Linked DNA regions of Homo sapiens: regions 1, 3 and 4 are each linked to region 2. Evidence: promoter capture Hi-C in 16 types of primary human blood cells and fetal thymus (Javierre and others, 2016). All regions are on one chromosome and are shown on one strand. The core of a region is centred on a gene start or on the middle of the fragment in contact, and the rest is flanking DNA. Distances in the headings are between cores, read along the strand shown. Region 1 has its middle 30 kb from the start of LINC01144. Region 2 holds the start of EIF2B3 (eukaryotic translation initiation factor 2B subunit gamma). Region 3 holds the start of LOC105378690 (a long non-coding RNA gene). Region 4 overlaps ARMH1 (armadillo like helical domain containing 1).

What was found. Contacts are between HindIII fragments. The CHiCAGO score rates a contact against its expected background, and 5 or more counts as called.
Region 1: a fragment that was not itself captured here is called in contact with the fragment with the promoter of EIF2B3 in region 2 in 1 of 17 cell types (M1 macrophages); the score reaches 6.1 in M1 macrophages.
Region 3: a fragment that was not itself captured here is called in contact with the fragment with the promoter of EIF2B3 in region 2 in 7 of 17 cell types (naive CD4 T cells, total B cells, naive CD8 T cells and 4 more); the score reaches 7.4 in naive CD4 T cells.
Region 4: a contact is called between a fragment that was not itself captured here and the fragment with the promoter of EIF2B3 in region 2, in 2 of 17 cell types (activated CD4 T cells and non-activated CD4 T cells). The highest score is 6.6, in activated CD4 T cells.

Annotation. Positions count from the first base shown.
Region 1 is chr1:45,272,056-45,275,450 of GRCh38, forward strand. No RefSeq gene overlaps it. Among named protein-coding and RNA genes, the nearest start is that of LINC01144, 30 kb to the right of the region's middle. The HindIII fragment of the contact is 2,244 bases long and covers 730-2,973 here.
Region 2 is chr1:44,985,079-44,988,827 of GRCh38, forward strand. EIF2B3 (eukaryotic translation initiation factor 2B subunit gamma) reads right to left here and starts at 1,517. Exons shown (of 12, transcript NM_020365.5): 1 at 1,415-1,517. It also overlaps the pseudogene PPIAP35. RefSeq lists enhancers at 1,291-1,560, 1,519-2,100, 1,811-1,860 and a silencer at 1,651-1,740. The HindIII fragment of the contact is 3,433 bases long and covers 731-3,749 here.
Region 3 is chr1:44,722,800-44,726,401 of GRCh38, forward strand. ARMH1 (armadillo like helical domain containing 1) reads left to right here. Exons shown (of 12, transcript NM_001145636.2): 7 at 1,323-1,445; 8 at 1,521-1,593; 9 at 1,740-1,869; 10 at 1,963-2,040; 11 at 2,337-2,418; 12 at 2,492-2,792. The coding sequence ends at 2,604. It overlaps LOC105378690 (a long non-coding RNA gene), which reads right to left and starts at 1,320. Exons shown (of 5, transcript XR_007066059.1): 1 at 1,236-1,320. RefSeq lists a silencer at 638-932. The HindIII fragment of the contact is 4,387 bases long and covers 1-3,570 here.
Region 4 is chr1:44,703,614-44,707,067 of GRCh38, forward strand. It overlaps ARMH1 (armadillo like helical domain containing 1), which reads left to right. Exons shown (of 12, transcript NM_001145636.2): 6 at 476-560. The region is part of intron 3 of LOC105378690 (a long non-coding RNA gene); the gene reads right to left. Among named protein-coding and RNA genes, the nearest start is that of RNU5F-1, 17 kb to the right of the region's middle. The HindIII fragment of the contact is 2,648 bases long and covers 620-3,267 here.

The sequences.
Region 1 (3,395 bases), core at 602-3,101, 290 kb after region 2:
CAGAGGCAGACCCTCAATGTTGGACTTCACAGCCTCCAGAACTTTAAGAAATAAATTTCTGTTCTTTTAAAATTACCCAGTCTGGGCTGGGCATGGTATCTCACACCTGTAATCCCAGCACTTTGGGAGGCTGAGGCTGGCAGATTGCTTGAACCCAAGAGTTTAAGACCAGCCTGGGCAACATGGCAAAATTCCATCTCTACAAAAAATACAAAAATCAGCCAGGTATGGTGGCATGCACCTGTGGATCCAGCTACTCGGGAGGCTCAGGTGGGAGGATCACTTGAGCCCAGGAGGTTGAGGCTGCAGTGAGCTGTGATCATGCCACTGTATTCCAGCCTGGGCAACAGAGTGAGACTCTGTCTCAAATAAAATAAAATAAAATAAAATAAATAAAATAAAATAAAATAAAATAAAATAAAATAAAATAAAATAACCCAGTCTGTGGTATTCTGGGATAACAACACAAAATGCATGAAGGTAATGCCAACCAAAAGAAAACAAAAAATTGTTCATGAATATGCTGATTTGTTCATTCAGTATTAATTGCAAAATATTTTATGGTTAGTTATCCATTGCTACATAACAAATTATCCCAGAACTTAGAGACTTAAGACAACAACAATCATTTATTATCTCTCACAGGATATAACTTGGTGTGGTGGTTCTGGCTGAGAATCCCTTGTGAGGTTACAGTTCAGATGTCAACCAGAACTGCAGCTATCTGAAAGCTTGACTGGGGCTGGAGAATCCACTTTCAAGGTAGCTTTCTCCCATCACTAGCAAGTGGTTGCTGGCTGTTTGTGGGAGGCCTCAATTCCTCTCCAGGTATCAACTAGAGAGGAATTGAGGCCTCCCACAGAATCTAGCTAATTCTTAGCGAGAGCCACCATACCAAGTTATATCTTATGAGAAAGAATAAATGATTATTGTTGTTTTAAGCCTCTAAGTTCTGGGGAAATTTGTTATGTAGCAATAGATGACTAATAATAAAATAGTTTTGCAATGAATGCTGAATGAATGAATTAGCATATTTATGAACAATTTTTTGTTTGTTTTCTTTTGGTTTGTCATTGTCTTAATCCATTTTGCGTTGCTATGACAGAATACCACAGGGGCGTTCTGGTTTTCCTCAGTGACCTCACAGCATGGTATGGCTTCCCCTGAATGAGTGATCCAAGAGTGAGAAAAATGCAGGGAGGAAGCTGTATCTTCTTTAACCCAGCCTCAGAAGTCACACACAGTCACTTCCACCACAGTCTATTTGTTAGAAGGAAGTCACTAAGTCTGGCCTTACATTCACGAGGAGGAAAAATAGACATCTGCCTTTGAAAAAAAGTGTTGGGCCAGGCACGGTGGGTGGCTCACGCCTGTAATCTTAGCACTTTAGGAGGCTGAGGCGGATGGATAATGAGGTCAGGAGTTCAAGACCAGCCTGGCCAACATAGTGAAACCTCATCTCTACTAAAAATACAAAAAACAAAAACAAAAACAAAAAACAATTAGCCAGACATGGTGGCAGGCACCTGTAATCCCAGCTACTTGGGAAGCTGAGAAAAGGAGAATTGCCTGAACTCAGGAGGCAGAGGCTACAGTGAGCCGAGATGGCACCATTGCACTCCAACCCTGGGAGACAGTGTAAGACTCTGTCTCAAAAAAAAAAAAAAAGTGTTAAAACATTTGTAGACTTTTTTTTTTTTTTTTTTTTTGAGACAGGGTCTCAGTCTGTTGCCTGGGCTGGAGTGCAGTATGGCACAATACAAAAATTAGCCAGGCATGGTAGCGTGTGTCATGAGGCTCACTGCTGCCTCAACTTCCTGGGCTCAAGTGATTCTCCTAACTCAGCCTTTTGGGTAGCTGGGACTACAAGCATGTACCACCATACCTGGCTAATTTTTGTATTTTTGGTAAAGATGAGGGTCTTGCTATGTTGCCTAAGCTGGTCTTGAACTCCTGGGCTCAAGCAATCCTCCTGCCTTGGCCTCCCAAAGTGCTGGGATTACAAGCGTGGGCCACTGTGCCTGGCCTGTGGACATTTTTTAACTACCACAACTATTTTGTGTAAGTACTGGGATAAATGCTGGGAGACCCGGTATATAAAACAGGCATGGTCCCTCTGAAACTTACAGACAAGAAAGAGGAGAGAGGCTTTAATCAAATGAACACACAAATAAATGTAAAATTACAACTGTGATAAGTTCTTGAAGGAATGATACACAATGTGATGAGAGAGAATGGTGGGGGATCTAGGGTATATCCAAAGAAGTGATGTTTTAGTCAAGATCCGAAGGAAGACTAAGGGCATCCCAGGCAGAGAGCATGTGCCTCCTATGGTAGGGAAGAACGTGGCATGATGGAGGGTCTAAAAGGAGGCTATTGGGTCTGCAGCAGAGTGCAATGAAGACTGGAGAGGGAGGCAGGGACCCCCCACAAACTGGGCCCTGGGTCTGAGTGACCATGTGACCCTGGGACAGATGCTCTGGGCCACCTAACCCCCTCTTTTTATATTGCACCCACATATGAAGCTGCAGGAGTCCAGTACCCTGTTGTTACCAAATCACTACAGGAAGACTCTCAGCCACACCTGGCCTGTGTGTACCTCTTTCACCAAGGAATGCTTAAGATAAATTCCACCCAAAGGTGTCACCTTACCTTTCTAACTCTCCTTGTAACTCTCTACCTGTTCTATACATCCTCTCAACTGACCCAGCCTCCTTCTTTGTTTTGGTCCCCAATCATTCTTCTGTATCTTCTTGAACTTCCACTCTAAGACCTACAAACTCCCTCAGATACCTACATCCCCAAGGTTTTCTTAGAGTGGAACCTGCACTTCTATCTAAACAAAAATCTGGAGATGATTCTGGGCAGTTGGCAGAGTAGGAAGAACCAAGAATATATCTCCCCACCTAGACAACAATTGCACTGTCAGATTCTGTCTGATGTAACAGTTTTGGAAATCCAGAGTCTATTGAAAGCTTGCAACTTCCAGGGGAAGACTTGGTGATAAATTGTAGTTAATTTCAGTAAATTTCAACTGTTACCACAGGAGCAGCTACCCATCTCCCACCAACAAGGAGAATGATATGATGTGTTCCTGGAGCAACCTGCACATAGCTTGTGGGAGCCAGGATGGCTCTGTTCTCCAAATATCAGGGATCTGTGCTCTGATTGCTGATTACTGCTTCTGGTAACAGAAGTGCAGAGAGTCAAAGGGCCATTGTTGTTGCACCTCCCTCCATTGCCACAAGTCCCTCCTCTATAGTTGAAGTGACTTCCTGGGGATTTAAAGGCCCAGGATCCTTTTCTTCTCTCTTTCATTTTTTCCCCTTTTGGGAGCCAGACACTGAAGACTAGGACATTAAAAAACAATTGCATATAAAGTGGTTTTTGTATGT
Region 2 (3,749 bases), core at 267-2,766:
TACAGGCGTGAGCCACCGCGCCCGGCCAATAATGTCCATCTTATGAGAAGCACTATATTTGTATTTGCTTTACTAGACAGAGACTAGATTATGGAAAACCTTCGTACTAATTGAGCCATGCTGCTTCATAATTCTGGTCTCTGCACTGCTACTGTTGCTTCCTAGTCTGCCTTTCTCTTGTGTCTAGTAATCACCTATTAAACTTTGAAGACAGCTCAAGAATCCTCTTGCCTACAAAGCCATTCCTAACCGTTCCCACCCCTCCAGAAGTGACTCCTTTTCCCGAAGTGCTTCCATTCTGCCATGTGCAGATTCTCTTAGCCTTTACGGGTTTCATTGCACGTATGTGTTTAAATGTCTACTTAAGTGTAACATTAATGTCTCTTAAATGTCTACATAAGAGTGTAAGAGTGACTTTCTTGGACTGTGTGTGCATCATCACTGTATTCCCAGTCAGATGCCAGAAATCAAAGTGGAATGAGGACCTGTGAACTTCACAACTGTATAAGAGTCAAACTCAAACATGTGCATAAGGGCATTAGAACCCAGGTCACTAGGAACTGAGGTTCCAGCTCTCAAGGAGGCCCTGGGTGAAGAAAGGCAACCTAGGAAGCATGAATAGTAATCATGAACATAACTAATCATGCTACCAGGCAGACTGTCAAATGCTCATGTCACTGCCACGACTATGGCTGACGGGAATCATGGCAACGAGTCTCGCTGCCTCCCAAGCTTTGGAGAGGGTGTTCACCGCATCTCAGACTTGCCTGCATCATAGCACTCATGCCTTTTCCAGTTGTAAATAGATAAGAAAACTGTATCAGAATTGGTCTGTCATTCCACGTGTGCTGCCTGAAGGCAGAGACCTCACTGCTCCTCCCTATATTTCACTGCCCTGCATCCAAACAACTAAAGGCAGGCTGAACAAATGAATGAAGGGCTGAGGCTGAAAGAGTGCAGGCACAGTGCTAAAGGCGTCTGGTACCGGTCTGGTGCTCGCTCACTCGCTGTGACTTTAAGCAGAACCCTCCCCGAAACTTCGTTTCTTTCTTTTCTTTTCTTTTTTTTTTTTTTTTTGAAACGGAGAGTCTCACTATGTTGCCCAGGCTGGAGTGCAGTGGCGCGAATTAGGCTCACTGCAACCTCCACCTCCTGGGTTCAAACGATTCTCCTGCCTCAGACTCTCGAGTAGCTGAGATTAGAAACTTAGTTCCTCCATCTGTTGCATAAGGTGGTTGGCTCGGATTCTCATCCCCAACCTCCCTTCTACTTCGGACACAGCTACACCGGGTCGAGCAGGGAGTCGAGCTGACAACTTCGGGGCTCAGCACCCTCTCCTACCCCTTCGGGTCCACCTCGGCCCAGTTCGACATGCCCGCCTCCCTCAGATGAGTGGCCCCACCGCACTGCTCACCCGGGTCAGCCAGCTTGTGTGCGGCCTGGCAGGGCAGAAGTCACAGCTATAACTCAGCTCCCGGCACGCCGCAACCGCTCCCAGCGATCTCCACGCCGCCTCTGACTGACAGCCCAATGGCGCAGGCGCGCGATGGCCGAGAAACTCGATGGAACGCGCAGAGCAGACCCATGGAGAAGAGAAGACCGCCGAGCGATGGATGACGGAGGGGAAGCACACTCAGCGGAGAGGAGGGAAGGCGGGCCGGAGGGGGCGGGGCCACCGAGGAGCATTCGACACGTGTGTCCCTCTGTCCATTAACACATTACCAACGCCTTTTGAGTATTCCTCCCAGTGCAGGGTGCCGGGAACCCAGACGGAACAACTCAGCCTCTTTCCTCAGGGAGTAAGTCTAAGACCTGGCTTCGAGTACATTCGGTGAAAGAAAGCTCATTGGGAGCCGCAATTTTGGCTAGCTAGTGAAAAAAATCACCGAATGCCCCTGCAGGGGTTGCCAGGACTTCCTATTTGTTTTTGTTGTTGTTGTTGTTGTTGTTTGTTTTTTGTTTTTTTTGAGACGGAGTCTCGCTCTGCGTCGCCCAGGCTGGAGTGCAGTGGCGCGATCTCGGCTCACTGCAAGCTCGGCCTCCCGGGTTCACGCCATTTTCCTCCCTCAGCCTCCCGAGGAGCTGGGACTACAGGCGCCTGCCACCATGCCCGGCTAATTTTTTTGTATTTTTAGTAGAGACGGGGGTTTCACTGTGTTAGCCAGGATGGTCTCGATCTCCTGACCTCGTGATCCGCCCGCCTCGGCCTCCCAAAGTGCTGGGATTACAGGCGTGAGCCACCGCGCCCGGCCCGGGACTTCCTATTTGTAACAGGGCCACTCACGTTAACTTTAGCCATCAAAACTGGGGGCGGCTGGGCATGGTGGCTCATGCCTGTAATCTCCGCAATTTGGGAAGCCGAGGTGGGAGGATTGCTTGAAACCGGGCGTTCAAGACCAGCCTGTGCGAGAGAGCCTCCAGTCTCTACAAAAGTAAAAATTAGCTGGGCATGGTAGTGTGTGCCTGTAGTCCCAGCTGCTCAGGAGGCTGAAACGGGAGGATCGCTTGAGCCCAGGAGTTCGAGGCTGCAGTGAGCTATGATCGGGCCACTGCACTCCTCCTGCCTAGACGACAGAGTGAGACCCTGTTTTTTTTTTTTAATTTAGTTTTTATTTCATAATCATAAACTTAACTCAGCAATCCAGTTAGGCATGGAAAGGAACAAGGAAAACATGGAACCCAAAGGGAACTGCAGCAAGAGCACAAAGATAAGATACTGCGAGCAGGCCGGGCGTGGTGGCTCACGTCTGTAATCCTAGCACTTTGGGAGGCCGAGGCAGGCAGATTGCCTGAGCTCAGGAGTTCAAGATCAGCCTGGGCAACATGGTGAAACCCCGTCTCTACTAAAATACAAAAAAAAAAAAAAAAAGAAAGAAAGAAAGAAAGAAAAAATTAGCCAGGCATGGCGGCGTGCGCCTGTAGTCCCAGCTACTCGGGAGGCTGAGGAAAGAGAATTGCTTGAACCCGGGAAGTGGAGGTTGCAGTGAGCCGAGATCGTGCCACTGCACTTCAGCCTGGGAGAGGGCGACAGGGTGAGACAGCGTCTCAAAAAAAAAAAAAAAAAAAAATACTGCAAGCAAATGGGGTGAAGGGGTGCTCTTCTGAGCTACAAAAGGAATGGTCTGGTGGTTAAGATAAAACAAAAGCCAAACTTGTTAGAGTTGTCCACAGTCAGCAATGGTGATCTTCTTGCTGGTCTTGCCATTCTCGGACCCAAAGTGCCCCATGGCCTCCACAATATTCATGCCTTCTTTCACCTTGCCAAAGACCACAGGATTGCCATCCAGCCACTCAGTCTTGGCAGTGCAGATGAAACACTGGGAACCATTTGTGTTGGGTCCAGCATTTGCCATGGACAAGATGCCAGGATGTGTATGCTTTAGGACGAAGCTCTCGTCATCAAATTTCTCCCCGCAGGTGTACTTGCCACCAGTGCCATTATGGCATGTGAAGTCACCACCCTGACACATAAACCCTGGAATAATTCTGTGAAAGCAGGAACCTTTATAACCAAATCCTTTCTCTACATTGCTCAGAGCACGAAAGTTTTCTGCTGCCTTTGGAACCTTGTCTGCAAACGGCTCGAAGGACACGCGGCCCAAGGGCTTGCCGTCGACAGCGATGTCGAACACGGTGGGGTTAACCATGGCTGATCGTACAGAGCTCCTGGCGTCGGTGGCTGCATTTGCAAAGCCGAGACCCTGCTTTTAACAAAACAATAATAGGCCAGGTGCGGTGGCTCACGCTTG
Region 3 (3,602 bases), core at 127-2,626, 260 kb before region 2:
CTGCTATCCCAGCACTTTGGGAGGCCGAGGCGCGTGGATCACGAGGTCAGAAGTTCAAGACCAGCCTGGCCAAGATGGTGAAACCCCATCTCTACTAAAAATACAAAAAAAAAAAAAAAAAAAAATTAGCCGGGTGTGGTGGCGGGCGCCTGTAATCCCAGCCTACTCGGGAGGCTGAGGCAGGAGAATTGCTTGAACCCAGGAGGCGGAGGTTGCAGTGAGCCGAGATCGCGCCACTGCACTCCAGCCTGGGCGACAGAGTGAGGCTCTGTCTCAAAAAAAAAAAAAAGGTAGCATTTATGCTGGTGTGCCATCATCTTAGCATCTCCTTCTCCTCCTGCCCCCTCTAGCTCTGTGGTTCCTTTCTCTTCTTTACAAAAACATTCAATCCTTGCCGATTTTCTCTTGTGCTCCCACAGCCCAATCACTGACTCCTTCCACAGCACCTGTCACCATATCATCGCTGCCTGTTTGTGCACGCTTAAGGAGGGTTGGTCGAATGAATGAATTCAGTCTGTATCCTCAACACCCAATGCCGCGCCTGGCACCATAGGCGTTCACATGCAGCCGTGCCGAAAGACTGAGTGAATGCTGGACTGAATGAATGACTGCCTGTAAAATATCTACAGGAAAGCCCTGCAGGAAATGCCCTCCATAAATTCTAGTCCCCTTCTCCTTCCTAACCAAATCCTCCCCTCCTTCTGCTTCCATCACTTCCTAGCTGTGTAACTTAGGCAAAGTGGTTTACCTCTCTGTGTCTAATTTCGGCAAAGGTAAAATGGGGAAGTGAACCTCATCTGGTTCTGGTGAGCTTCCACGGGTGCTGTATGGAAAGCCTGGCACCCTGCCTGGTGGAGAGGGCTCGATGATGGTTAGAAGGAGAGTTTCTCTAAACTGCCGCCTACCTTCCTTCCCCTTTCTCATTTCCTGCCACAAGTCTCCCACCCACTTTCTCTGTCTCCCTCTCACCCCTTGTCTTTCTCCATCTTGTCTTCCCGTAAAGACCCAGCCCTTCCCTCCTCCATGAAACCTGGATTCCTCCAAGGCGAAGGCCCCCCTCTCTGGGGTCTCAGCCTCCAGCGCTGACATCCTAGGCCGCCTCGACAGGTGGGCTCACCATCCAACCCTTCCTCCTCCCCCTTCAGCCCCCTCCTCCTGCTCTTCAACTGAGGTTCGCCTTCCCAGCTCCCCCACGCCCTGCACAGTGCTGATCAGTAAAAGAGGAGGACACTGACGAGTGGCGACTTGGTTCACGGGGTTCTTTGCTTCCTCGGTGGCGGAGGGGCCTGGGGCCTCTCTCCAGCACCTCTGCCCTTCCGCAGCCATCGAGTTGATCAAAGACCTGGTCGGTTACGATGTGCGCCAGGCGCTGCTCAAGGGCCTCGTGGCGCTGCTGATACCGTCGGTCAAGGAGATCTCCAAACTGCAGGCCAAGATCCTCAGTGGTAAGGACCTGCTCAAATGGGGCTGCCTGGGCCACGGGAGGGCGGTCTCTTGCCTCACGGCTGCCCCCTCCTCAGACCCCTCGGTTCTCCAGCTCACCCCCAGCCTGCCGATGTTTTTGCAGCAGGCCGCGGCCGCCAAGGCCATCGGGTAAGCGGGCAGGGGTTAGTGGGTAGCTGCAGCAAGCCTGGCTTGGCGCTGCCGGCGGGCCCCGGGAGCGCTCCGTGCGCCGGGTGGGCGGGGGTGTGCGCCGGGTGAGCCCCAGGGCGTCGCCCCAGCCCGAACCCCCGGCCCAGGGTCCTGGCGCGCAACGACATGAGCATCGCCGAGGAGCTGCTGTACCTGCGCGTGGTGCGTGGCCTAATGGCCGCCATGGGCAACACGGACCACAGCAACAGCCAGCGGCTGGCCAGCCTCACGCTGGAGGTGCGCGCGGCGGCTGGTTAGGGGGCGGGAAGGGCGGCGGCACCCGCAGCCCCGTCGCCCCCGCAGTCACGCCGCCTCGCCCGCGCGGCGCAGTGCTTCGTGCAGATGTTCCCCTTGGTGGCGGAGCACGTGCGCAAGTGCATGGGGGAGGAACTCTACCAGCTCTTCCTGGTAAGTGCGCCCTTCCTGCCCCGCCGCAATGAGCAGATGGCGGCTCGGACAGTGTGATGCCCCTTCAGACAGTCCCCATCCTGGAGCGCGCCACATGCAGAGTGGACCTGGCCACCAGCTGCAGGAGGGACTGCTCTGGCGTAGGCTCCTCCACCCGCCACCTTCCTGTTCCCTTTCCTGCCCTTTCGGTCAGGCTGCCGACCCGCCCCCCACCTGCAACATCCCTCTGCCAAGCCCAACTCCAAGTCCAGACTGCCCTGGCACCCCAGCCGGGTCCCCCTTGCTCCTGTCCTCAGAGCAACGCTGAGGACTTGTACATGAAAATAGACAGCATTCAGGCGGACATCTTGGCGGCCAACACAGTCAATGTTACCAAAGGTGAGTGTGGGACGAGGGAAGCCGGGCGCAGGCGCCGCCAGCACAGCCTCACGCCCGCCTTTCCTGCCTGCAGCCCTGTGCCTCCATGGCAGCTCCTACAGCATGAACACTCTCTATGGCTCGCGCGATTCGGCTCAGATGGCCTACCTCACACACTTCGAGGAGGATGTAGAATCAAAGGAGTAACAGCCCCTGTGGCAAACCAGGAAGGCCAAGGCTGCGGGGCAGGGAAGCCTGGCAAGAGGAAGGCGCCTGGGGTCAAGCTCAGAGCCACTCCACTTGGCTCCAGGGGGGAGACGGGGATTAGGCATCCCAGAGGGGCAGAGGAAGAGCCGCTGGCTGCGAAGAGTCAATAAACAGCCTTGATACCTGTCTGTTCTTTGTGTGTGTGGAGGGGGAAGGGAGGTCAAGTGAGAGCTATGATGCTAGATTGTGGTGCCTGTGCTCCTCAAGTTAAAAAGCAGGTCCAAGTTTAGGACGGTGGCTTGCACCTGTAATCCTAGCTACTCTGCAGGCTGAAGGAAGAAGATCTCTTGAGCCCAAGAGTTGGAAGCCATCATGGACAACAAAGCAAGACCCCATCACAAAAACAGGCCGGGCACGGTGGCTCACGCCTGTAATCCTGGCAGTTTGGGAGGCTGAGGTGGGCGGATCGCCTGAGGTCAGGAGTTCGAGACCAGCCTGGCCAACAGGGTCAAACTCCGTCTCTACTAAAAAATAAATAAAAAATAAAAAATTAGCCGGGTGTGGTGGCACACACTTGTAATCCCAGCTACTTGGGAGGCTGAGGCAGGAGAATCACTTCAACCCGGGAGGTAGAGGCTGCAGTGAGCCAAGATCACACTACTGCACTCCAGCCTCCTGGGCGACAGAGTGAGACTCATTCTCAAAAAAAAAAAAAAAAAAAAAAAGCAGATCCAGAGGGAAGGGCCACCAACACCCTAGAAGGTTCAAGGGCATAGCCTGAATAGAGGGCCTCACCTCCACTCCCTGATGGCCTATGCACCCTTTCCTCCAGAACACCCTACCTACCTGGTTTTTCTCCGGTTGTTACAGACATTAAAGGGGGTCGTTTGATCCTAATGGGTCCTTTCCTTGCCTGGAACCATTTGCACCAATAGAACAAGGCCAGGTTCCATAAAGCAGAGCAGAAGCTTTATTCATTGATCTAGGAGATAGCAACA
Region 4 (3,454 bases), core at 694-3,193, 280 kb before region 2:
AGCTACTCAGAGGCTGAAGCAGAAGAATCGTTTGAGCCCAGGAGGCGGAGGTTGCAGTGAGCCGAGATCGCGCCACTGCACTCCAGCCTGGGTGACAGAGTGGGAATACATCTTTTTCTTTTTTCTTTTCTTTTTTTTGAGACGGCTCTGTTTCCCAGGCTGGAGTGCAGTGGCGCGATCTCGGCTCACTGCAAGCTCTGCCTCCCGGGTTCACGCCATTCTCCTGCCTCAGCCTCAGGAGTAGCTGGGACTACAGGCGCCTGGCACCACGCCCAGCTAATTTTTTGCATTTTTAGTAGAGACAGTGTTTCACTTTGTTAGCCAGGATGGTCTGGATCTCCTGACCTCGTGATCTGCCCACCTCGGCCTCCTAAAGTGCTGGGATTACAGGCGTGAGCCACCGCACCCGGCCGGGAATCCATCTTTAAAAAAAAAAAAAAGACTAACCACCTTGTCCTGTTGTCTGTCTGGTCAGCCAATCATTGGGACCACACACCCCAGCATCGTGGACTGCGTGCTGAAGGTGCTGGGCACGATGCACCTGGAAGTCCAGTATGAAGGTAGGGAGCCTCCAGATTGCAGAAGGGGGCACCGAGAGCCAGACATATCAGCTCTCAAAAGCTTTCTCTTAGTCACAAAGAGCCTTGATGTTGAGTGTCTGAGACAGCCTTGGCAGATGGAAGATGCTGGTTCAGAAAATGTCAGTCACACCTATGCCTTGCGTCAACCACAGGGTGCCTAGGGTGCCTGAACGGTTACGAGAATCTGCCTGGGTCCAGAGCTGGCTCTGGCTCCCAGTCTTATGTGATGCTTCCTGGCTAAACAGAAATCACCCTGAGGAATGTCCTTCTTCTAAGAAACTAAACTGAATAGTCGTAGTATTTGGTTGGTTGTTTTTGCTGGGTTTTTTTTTTTTGAGGCAGGGTCTTGCTTTGCTGCTCAGGCTGGAGTGCAGTGGTACCATCATAGCTCACTGTGGCCTCAAACTCCTGGGCTCAAGATATTCTCCCTCCTCAACCTCCCAAGTAGCTAGGACCACAAGTGTGCACTACTACATCCATCTAACTTTTTAATTTTTTGCAGAAACGAGGTCTCACTATGTTGCCCAGGCTGGTCTTGAACTCCAGGCCTCAAGCGATCCTCTCACCTCAGCCACCCAAAGTGCTGGGATTACAGGCATGAGCCACTGCACCCGGCCAGGAGCTTTTATTTATTGAGAACTTTTTTTTTTTTTTTTTTGAGACGGAATCTCGCTCTGTCATCCAGGCTGGAGTGCAGTGGCGCAATCTCAGCTCACTGCAAGCTCTGCCTCCCGGGTTCACACCATTCTCCTGCCTCAGCCTCCCAAGTAGCTGGGACTACAGGCGCCTGTCACCATGCCCGGCTAATTTTTTATATTTTTTAGTGGAGACGAGGTTTCGCTGCGTTAGCCAGGATGGTCTCGATCTCCTGACCTCGTGATCCACCCGCCTCGGCCTCCCAAAGTGCTGGGATTACAGGCATGAGCCACCGCACCCGGCCTATTTATTGAGAACTTCTATGTGCCAGCCACTTTCCATACATCACCTCATTTACTTCTCAAAATAACCATAAGAGGCCAGGCATGGTGGCTCACGCCTGTAATTCCACCATTTTGGGAGGCCGAGGCAGGCGGATCACCTGAGGCCAGGAGTTTGAGACCAGCCCGGCCAACACAGCAAAACCCCGTCTCTACTAAGAATACAAAAAAATTAGCCAGGGGTAGTGGCATGTGCCCATAATCCCAGCTACTTGAGTGGCTGAGGCATGAAAATCACTTGAACCTAGGAGGCGGAGGTTGCATTGAGCCGAGATCTCGCCACTGCACTCCAGCCTGGGTGACAGAGCAAGATTCTGTCTCAAAAAAAAAACAACAAAACAACAGCAATAACAACAAAATAACCATAAGAGTACAAACCCTGGTACATATTAGGTATTCAAATGTTTCCATGAATGAATGGTAAAGATACGTATTTTTATGTTTTTCAAGATACAACAATAAAGCACAGAGAGATTAAGTATGCTTCCCAAGGTTACACAGCTATTGGATTCTAGCCAGATCTGCCTGACTCTAAAGTTTATGCTTTTAACATATAGCGCATGGCAGATATTTAAACGATATAATTTCCTTCCCTTTCCCTATAGTGGTTCAGAGGAAGGAGATTCTATTTTCAACAGGAGGAGATTAAGGAAGGGTTCACCGAGACGGTGGTGTTTGAACTGAGCCGTGGAGAATAGGGAGGATTTGGGAAGGTCGAAAGGAGGAGAGGAGTTCGTTCTGGAAAGGGGAATGGTAGAAAGGAAGGCAGACAGGGAAGTACAAGGTGTGTCCTGGGAATAATGGGTAGGTCATTTAGAGAAGGGATGGTAAAGGTCTATGTCTAGGAAAGGTAGGCTAGGAGCAATGGAGGGGCACCTTGAATGCCATGTAGGTAGGTGGCAGTCTCTCCAGTATGCAGCATGGAGCCGCTGAAAAGTGAGCTGTGCACAGGTGAGGGCTGAGCAAGTGCAGTGCCTCCGAAGATGGCCTGGGTGGTGCTATGCCAGGTGGGCCAGAGCCACAGGGAACCACTTGAGGCTGGAGGCCAATTAGGAGGAATTTGGGGTGGTTCAAATGACAAAATAAGAATGTGCTGGCCCAGCTGGGTACATAGCCCCAGGAAGAGAGCATGGACAGCACAGGGGACTGCCTGGTGAGGAGAATGAAGCAGCTTATGGATGTCAGAGTAGGCAGGGCCCAGGAGACCAGGACAGACAGCCCCAGTAAGCAGGAATGGTCTGGGCATCAGTATAGGGATAGGGACTCCTGTGTCCAGGATGACAGGCTGAGCCCCAGGTTCAGGAAGCCCGGGGAGGAGAGCATAAGGAGCAGCCAGGCACTGAGGTTCACGTACGCAAGTGAGATCCTGGGGAAGATCAACAAAGCTCTGGAGGCCACTTCCAACCTAGGTTATTTTTGAGCAGCAGTGCTTAAACTGAATGTCAGGCATGTTATTCCTTCAGCAACATTGTCGGTTTTGTATTTTTTGACCCCTGCAAGGTCTGTGTGCATATGTGGGCCTTGTATGTTGAGAAATAATGCTATGCTAAAATCTGTTAGCAGCTGGAGCAGAGTGTCCTGGCTGGAGAGGAGTTGCCAGTGAAGGGGTAGAGTGGTACAGGGACCTAAGTAATAGTCAGACCCTGCACCAGAGGGTTGTCACTGGCATTGGAGCAAGGGGATGACCTGGTAGTAGAATCATGTTAGGAAGCTTAATCAAACAATCCCAAAGACTAGATTGGGTAGCACTGACACCTTCCTCTCCCCACCTCACCTCTGTGTGGCAAACTTGCCCACTCCTCCTCATCCGTCCATCACTTCTCAGCTTAAGCATTGACTCCCTAAGCCCTTCCCTGACCCTGCCTTCAACCCCTGCCCAAATGTCAGCCCTTCTTC